2 separate regions of the Homo sapiens genome follow, and region 1 is linked to region 2. The links are contacts of gene promoters, found by promoter capture Hi-C in human tissues and cell types (Jung and others, 2019). All regions are on one chromosome and are shown on one strand. Each heading gives the region's core, a stretch centred on a gene start or on the middle of the fragment in contact. The rest is flanking DNA. Distances are from core to core; before and after follow the strand shown.

Region 1 (2,801 bases), core at 18-2,517, 230 kb after region 2:
AGGATGGGTGTTCAGTGTGAGGTTGGCCAGGCAGTCCCAGTCTCTGGCTGCTGGGTTAAGGCTCAAGCTTGGGAGCAGCTTCACGTGTGAGGGAGACGAGGGGGAGGTGGCGCCCAGTCGAGGGGAAGGACAGGAGAGAGGTGGCAGAGCTGCAGCAGGGTTGGTGTAGGGGTTGGCCTCCTGGCAAGGCCCAGCATGACAAAGGCAGGTAAGAGGAGTGGGCAGGACAGCCATGGAGGGACCACTGCGGACCGTCCTCCAGCCGGACTGGGATGCGGGTTCCGCCATCCTGTGCAGAAGCTGTGTGCAGGTGGGGTCTGGGGGGCTGTGCCATTTCAGGGATGCAGGATGGGCTTCCATGTGGCAGGGCTCCCAGGGAGGCCATGGAGGAGGCCGTGGGGAAGTCGGGTGGAAGTAGGGAGGAGAGGGGAGTGTGACAACAGAGCCCCAAACCCCAGCACCACCTCCTCCTCCCAGACTGGAGCTTGATCAGGGCTCAGCCCCCGTCCCCATGCTGGGGGTGGCCCTGTGGACCCCGCCTTCTGACTCACAGCAGATGGGGACATCATGTGAGCAAACCCAGCAGTCAGGGGTGACCAGACACAGCAACTGGGCAGATGGCAAATGGGGGGCGGGGCGGGCTGGCACAAAGGGGTCTCTCAAACCGGGTGGGGCGGGGCTGTGGCACGGCCTCAGCCTCCCAGGCCTCCTTTCTCCTGAGCCGTCACTTGGCTGAGACCCTGCCCCTCCTCCTGTCTCTGGTGCCCCATCTGGGGCTCCTTGAGGCCCCCAGGGGAGCCCTGTAGATTCTGGTCTTAGGTCTGGACTGCTGGGTAGAGGGGCCAAGGGTTGGGGAGTAGGAAGGGACACACATTTTCTGACCACTGCCCAGTGCCAGCCTGCCCTGGCAGGAGGTCAGCTAAGCCCCAAACTCTCCCTGGTTCCCTGATGGCTCAGCCTGGATGGGAGCAATCCTGGACCTTCCCTGACCTCAGATTCTGCCAGGCCCTGGGCTCAGTGCCTTGCACACGACACCCACTTTTCAGATGAGGACATTGAGGCAGGGGAGGCTTACCCAGTGAGCAACCCCACATCTTTGGGGATCCAGAATTTGGGCTCTTGTCCCTTGGTGGAGAGGAGGCTCCTCAGCCAGCCAGGCACATGCTCGTGTCTTGAACCCTGCCCCTGCCACTGCCAAATCCACGCACCTGTAGGGTGACAGGGCCCGTAGAGACAGCAAGGGTGGCTTGCCCAGGGAGAATCTTGGCTTTGTTTCTCTCTGGTTGTGGGAACATGGGCCTGTGCCTCGGTTTCCTCATCTGTAAACTGTGGATCACAATCACATCTGCTTCAGAGGCTATTATGAGCATGAAGAGAGTTGATAGAGGAAAGCATATGGGAAAGTGCCTTTCCCATACGTGGGAATGTTAAGCCTTTTTTTAATACCTCTCCCATTGGACAGATGGCTGTATTGAGGCCCAGAGATAACCTGAAATAACTGTGAGCACTTCTCCCTGCCCCCGCTACTGCTGGGAGAGCTGCGGCCACCTGGACACCAGTGGCGCTCACTCACCCACCTCCAGCCTGACTCGTGCTTTGGTGAGGAGGCCAGTGTGGTGGGCGTCGGGCTCCCGAGCTGGCGCCTGCGCAGGCTCAGGCAGTTTGTGGTATGCTTGGCAGTTCCAGGCAGAGATAAAAGCTCAGCCCCGGAGGAGCTGGCATGCTTCCGGGCACCGGTGGACAGGCCTCTCTGCATTAGTGGGAGATGGCCTGGCGGTGGGGAGATGGCCTTGCTGTCCAAGAGCCAGCCCAACCCTGGTGGCCTGAAAAGTTCTGCGGTGAATGGCTCTGGCTTGGCTTCCCAGACTCGGGGCCACTTACACCAACTGCAAAACAAGGAACAGTGAGATAGAGAGCCGCCTCTGCCACCTCCCAGGCCCTTTCCCCTCCCGTCCCCAGGTCTCTGTCCTCCTAGTACCCCCAGCCTGGATGCTCAAGGCCCATGGGGGAAAGCTGACTTTTGAGAGGAGCTGTGGAGACTTGCATTCCACTGCCAAAGATGACAGCTTCTCTGGACCCGTTTCCCTGCCTGTAAATGGAGATAACAATACATCCCTTTGCAGGGTTGCTGTGGAATTTGGGGCAAAAGTGGCTGCAAAGTATGTACCTAGCACAGTGCATGACTTCAAGAGGTTCTCCCTAAACCTCAGCTGGAGGTTTAATCTTCCAGGTCATGGGCTCATTGACTTAGGCTCAAATCCTTGAAAAATGACTTAGAGCAAGCGGCTGAATTTCTCACAACTTCATTACTTGGGCTGTGAAAGTCTCTGATACCTAAATGCGGCTTTGTGGGGATGAACCGAGACAGCCACACGTCATAGGGGCTCATGAGACGCAGACCCTGTCCCCAGCTGTCCCAGACCTTTGCTTTTCCATCCCTCAGCCAGGCTGCCCCCTAGGAGAGGCAGCACGAGGTGGGCTGTTAGGGGTGTGGGCTCTGGGGCTGCCTGATTCTGTCCCAGCTCTACTGGCTGTGTGGCCTGGGACAGGTATATTAACCTCTCTGTGCCTCGTCTTCCTAATTGTAAACATGAGGCTGGTAATGGCATCCTGAGAGGATTAAGTGAGCCTCTGTATTTTAAGTGCTGAGTGCAGGGCTGGGCACACCTCAAGTGCTATTGTAATTGCCCCTTCTGGGCCATGACCAAGCCTTGTTCTTAGAGAGCATTGGAGACTTTATCCGGAACAATGGTGCCATCCTCCCAGGATGTTACCGGGAAAACCACCAATCCTGTGACAGC
Region 2 (2,780 bases), core at 271-2,770:
TATTATTATCTATAATATATATAATATATATTATTATCTATAATATATATAATATATATTATTATCTATAATATATATAATATATATTATTATCTATAATATATATAATATATATATTATAATATATATAACATATATTATATATAATATATATATTATAATATATATATTATATTATAATATATATTATAATATATATATTATATTATAATATATATTATATTATATATATTATATAATAATATATATATTATAATATATATATTATATTATATATATGTTATATATATTATAAATATATATTTTATATATATATAATATATATTTATAATATATATAATATATATTTATAATATATATAATATATATTTATAATATATATTATATATATTATAAATATATATAATATATATATATATATATTTTTTGAGATAGAGTCTTGCTCTGTTGCCCAGGCTGGAGTGTAGTGGTGTGATCTTGGCTCACTGCAACCTCTGCCTCCTGGGTTCAAGTGATTCTCCTGCCTCAGCCTCCCAAGTACCTGGGACTACAGGCACCTGCCACCACGCTCAGCTGATTTTTGTATTTTTAGTAGAGATGGGATTTCACCATGTTGGCCAGGCTGGTCTCGAACCCCTGACTTCAAGTGATCCACCTGCCTCGGCCTCCCAAAGTGCTGGGATTACAGGCGTGAGCCACCACGCCCGGCCTAAAAAAGTTTGAAAAAGGTGAAGGAGTGAGTCCTGCAGGTATCTGGGGACAACATTCCAGGCTGAAAGAACAGTCCGTGCAAACCTCCTCAGGAAGGAGCATGTCTGTCTGGTTGGTTTGAGGCATAGGGAGGAGGCCAGGGTGGCTGGGGCAGAGTGAACCAGGGAACCAGGAGATACAGGTGGGCAGAGAGCAGGGCACAGAACTCGCGGGGCCTCGTGGCTGCTGGAGGGTCTTGGACTTGTCCTCTGCGTGAGGTGGAGAGCCACGGGGACGTTCTGAACACGGGAGATTCATGGTCCCTCTGCTGCTGTGCTGAGAATACACTGTAGGGGGCAAGGATGGAGACAGGGAGAGCACCCAGAAGGCAGTTGTAGGAAGCCAGGGATTGATGCTGGTTTCTGGGTGTATTTGGAAAGCAGAGACATGAGCTCACCCAACAGATGGGAAGTTGGGGGCGAGAGGAAGAGGCGTCAGGGATAGCGCCCAGGTTTCTGGCCCTAGTAACCGGAAGGAAGGGGCTGGCAGAGAAGGAGGAGAGAGCAGGTGTAGGGGTGGGTGGGAATCAGAAATTCAGCTTCAGACTTGGGGGGTTGGAGCTGCCTATTTGGTATGGCGAGTAGGCAGCTGGACGTAGAAGGAGGCTGGAGTTTGCGAGAGAAACTTGGGAGTGGTTGGCATATAGATGATATTTAAAGTCAGAAACGTGTACTATTTGCCAGATATAAGCAGTAAGGCAGTTGATGCAAACCAAAGCCTTCTAATGTAATTATTGTTATTATTTTCATTTTGCAGCTGTAGAAACTGAGGCTCAGAGAGAAGTGACTTTGAGCTCACAGTGTCACCGCCTGCTGATGGGAGAGCTGAATTCAAAACCAGGTGACCTGACCTAGAGTCTTTGCTCCTAACCCCTCCACTGTGAGGTGACCCCCTCGCTGGATCTTTCAGGGCATGTGTTAGATGAGCGGTGGATGGACTTTGGATCAAGGGAAGATAATCCATACAAGAAGGGGACAGGAGTTTGGAAGCAGCAAACCAAGTCACAAAGTGAGGGGACGCACTGGCCCTCAAGAAAGCTCAATGTTGGGGAGCAGGGAGATGAGACTGAATAGGAAGGAGGGGCTAGATGGAAGGTACAGCTTCAAGATTGGCCTGAAAAGTTTTGACTGGATGGGGAAGGAAGCAGGGAGCCATTGACGGTTTTGGAGGAAGGGGGCATTACATGGTCAGGGCAGCCCTTGTGAAAGATCCACCACATGTGGGCATGCAGCTGATGAGGGAGGTGTCAGGAGAGACCAGAGAGGAAGAAATAGGCCCAGAAGTTTTTGAGACTCTCTGGGTGTGAAGGATGAGGGCTGAGCCAGTGGAGATGAGAAGGAAGCAAGGAAGCCAAGCTCCCACTGAAGACAGCGCTGGGCAGAGTCTCTGCCTGATGTAATGTGGGGGATGGAGGCGAGGAATGAGTCAAGGGCAAAGTTTCAGACTTGGGGGCAGATGGGGAGATGGGAAACAATGCTGGCTTGAACAGAAAAAAAGGAGGCTGGTGTGAGAGGGAACTCGGTTTTGCCCTTCTGGTACCTGGGGCTGAGTGAACCATAGCAGGACAGACTTCTGCTTCCCAGCAGCTCACAGGTTAGTGTGGGGGACAGAACTGCACAGAGCTGGCCAGGCTGCAAGGCAGAGAGAGCTGAGGGGTGCCACAGAAAGATGGGCCGGAAGGAGGAGTGTCCAGGTGGGTGTGTCTGATTAGTTACTGGTCAGGGCTGGAGACAGAGATTTAAGAAGTATTTATCAGGCCAGGTGCGGTGGCTCACGCCTGTAATCCCAGCACTTTGGGAGGCCGAGGCAGGTGGATCACGAGATCAGGAGATCGAGACCATCCTGGCTAACACGGTGAAACCCCGTCTCTACTAAAAATACAAAAAAAAAAAAAAATTAGCCGGGCATGGTGGCGGGCGCCTGTAGTCCCAGCTACTTGGGAGGCTGAGGCAGGAGAATGGCGTGAACCCGGGAGGTGGAGCTTGCAGTAAGCCGAGATAGCGCTGCTGCAGTCCAGCCTGGGCGAAAGA

The links. The method cuts DNA at HindIII sites, captures the fragments that hold promoters and counts their contacts. A contact is called where the count stands out against the background at its distance.
Region 1: a fragment that was not itself captured here is called in contact with the fragment with the promoter of CCL17 in region 2 in 1 of the 25 tissues and cell types used here (spleen).

Annotation. Positions count from the first base shown.
Region 1 is chr16:57,631,060-57,633,860 of GRCh38, forward strand. All of the region lies in intron 1 of ADGRG1 (adhesion G protein-coupled receptor G1), which reads left to right. Among named protein-coding and RNA genes, the nearest start is that of ADGRG1, 3.8 kb to the left of the region's middle. RefSeq lists an enhancer at 32-687. The HindIII fragment of the contact is 6,695 bases long and covers 1-2,801 here.
Region 2 is chr16:57,403,247-57,406,026 of GRCh38, forward strand. It overlaps CCL17 (C-C motif chemokine ligand 17), which reads left to right and starts at 1,521. Exons shown (of 4, transcript NM_002987.3): 1 at 1,521-1,590. The HindIII fragment of the contact is 13,083 bases long and covers 1-2,780 here.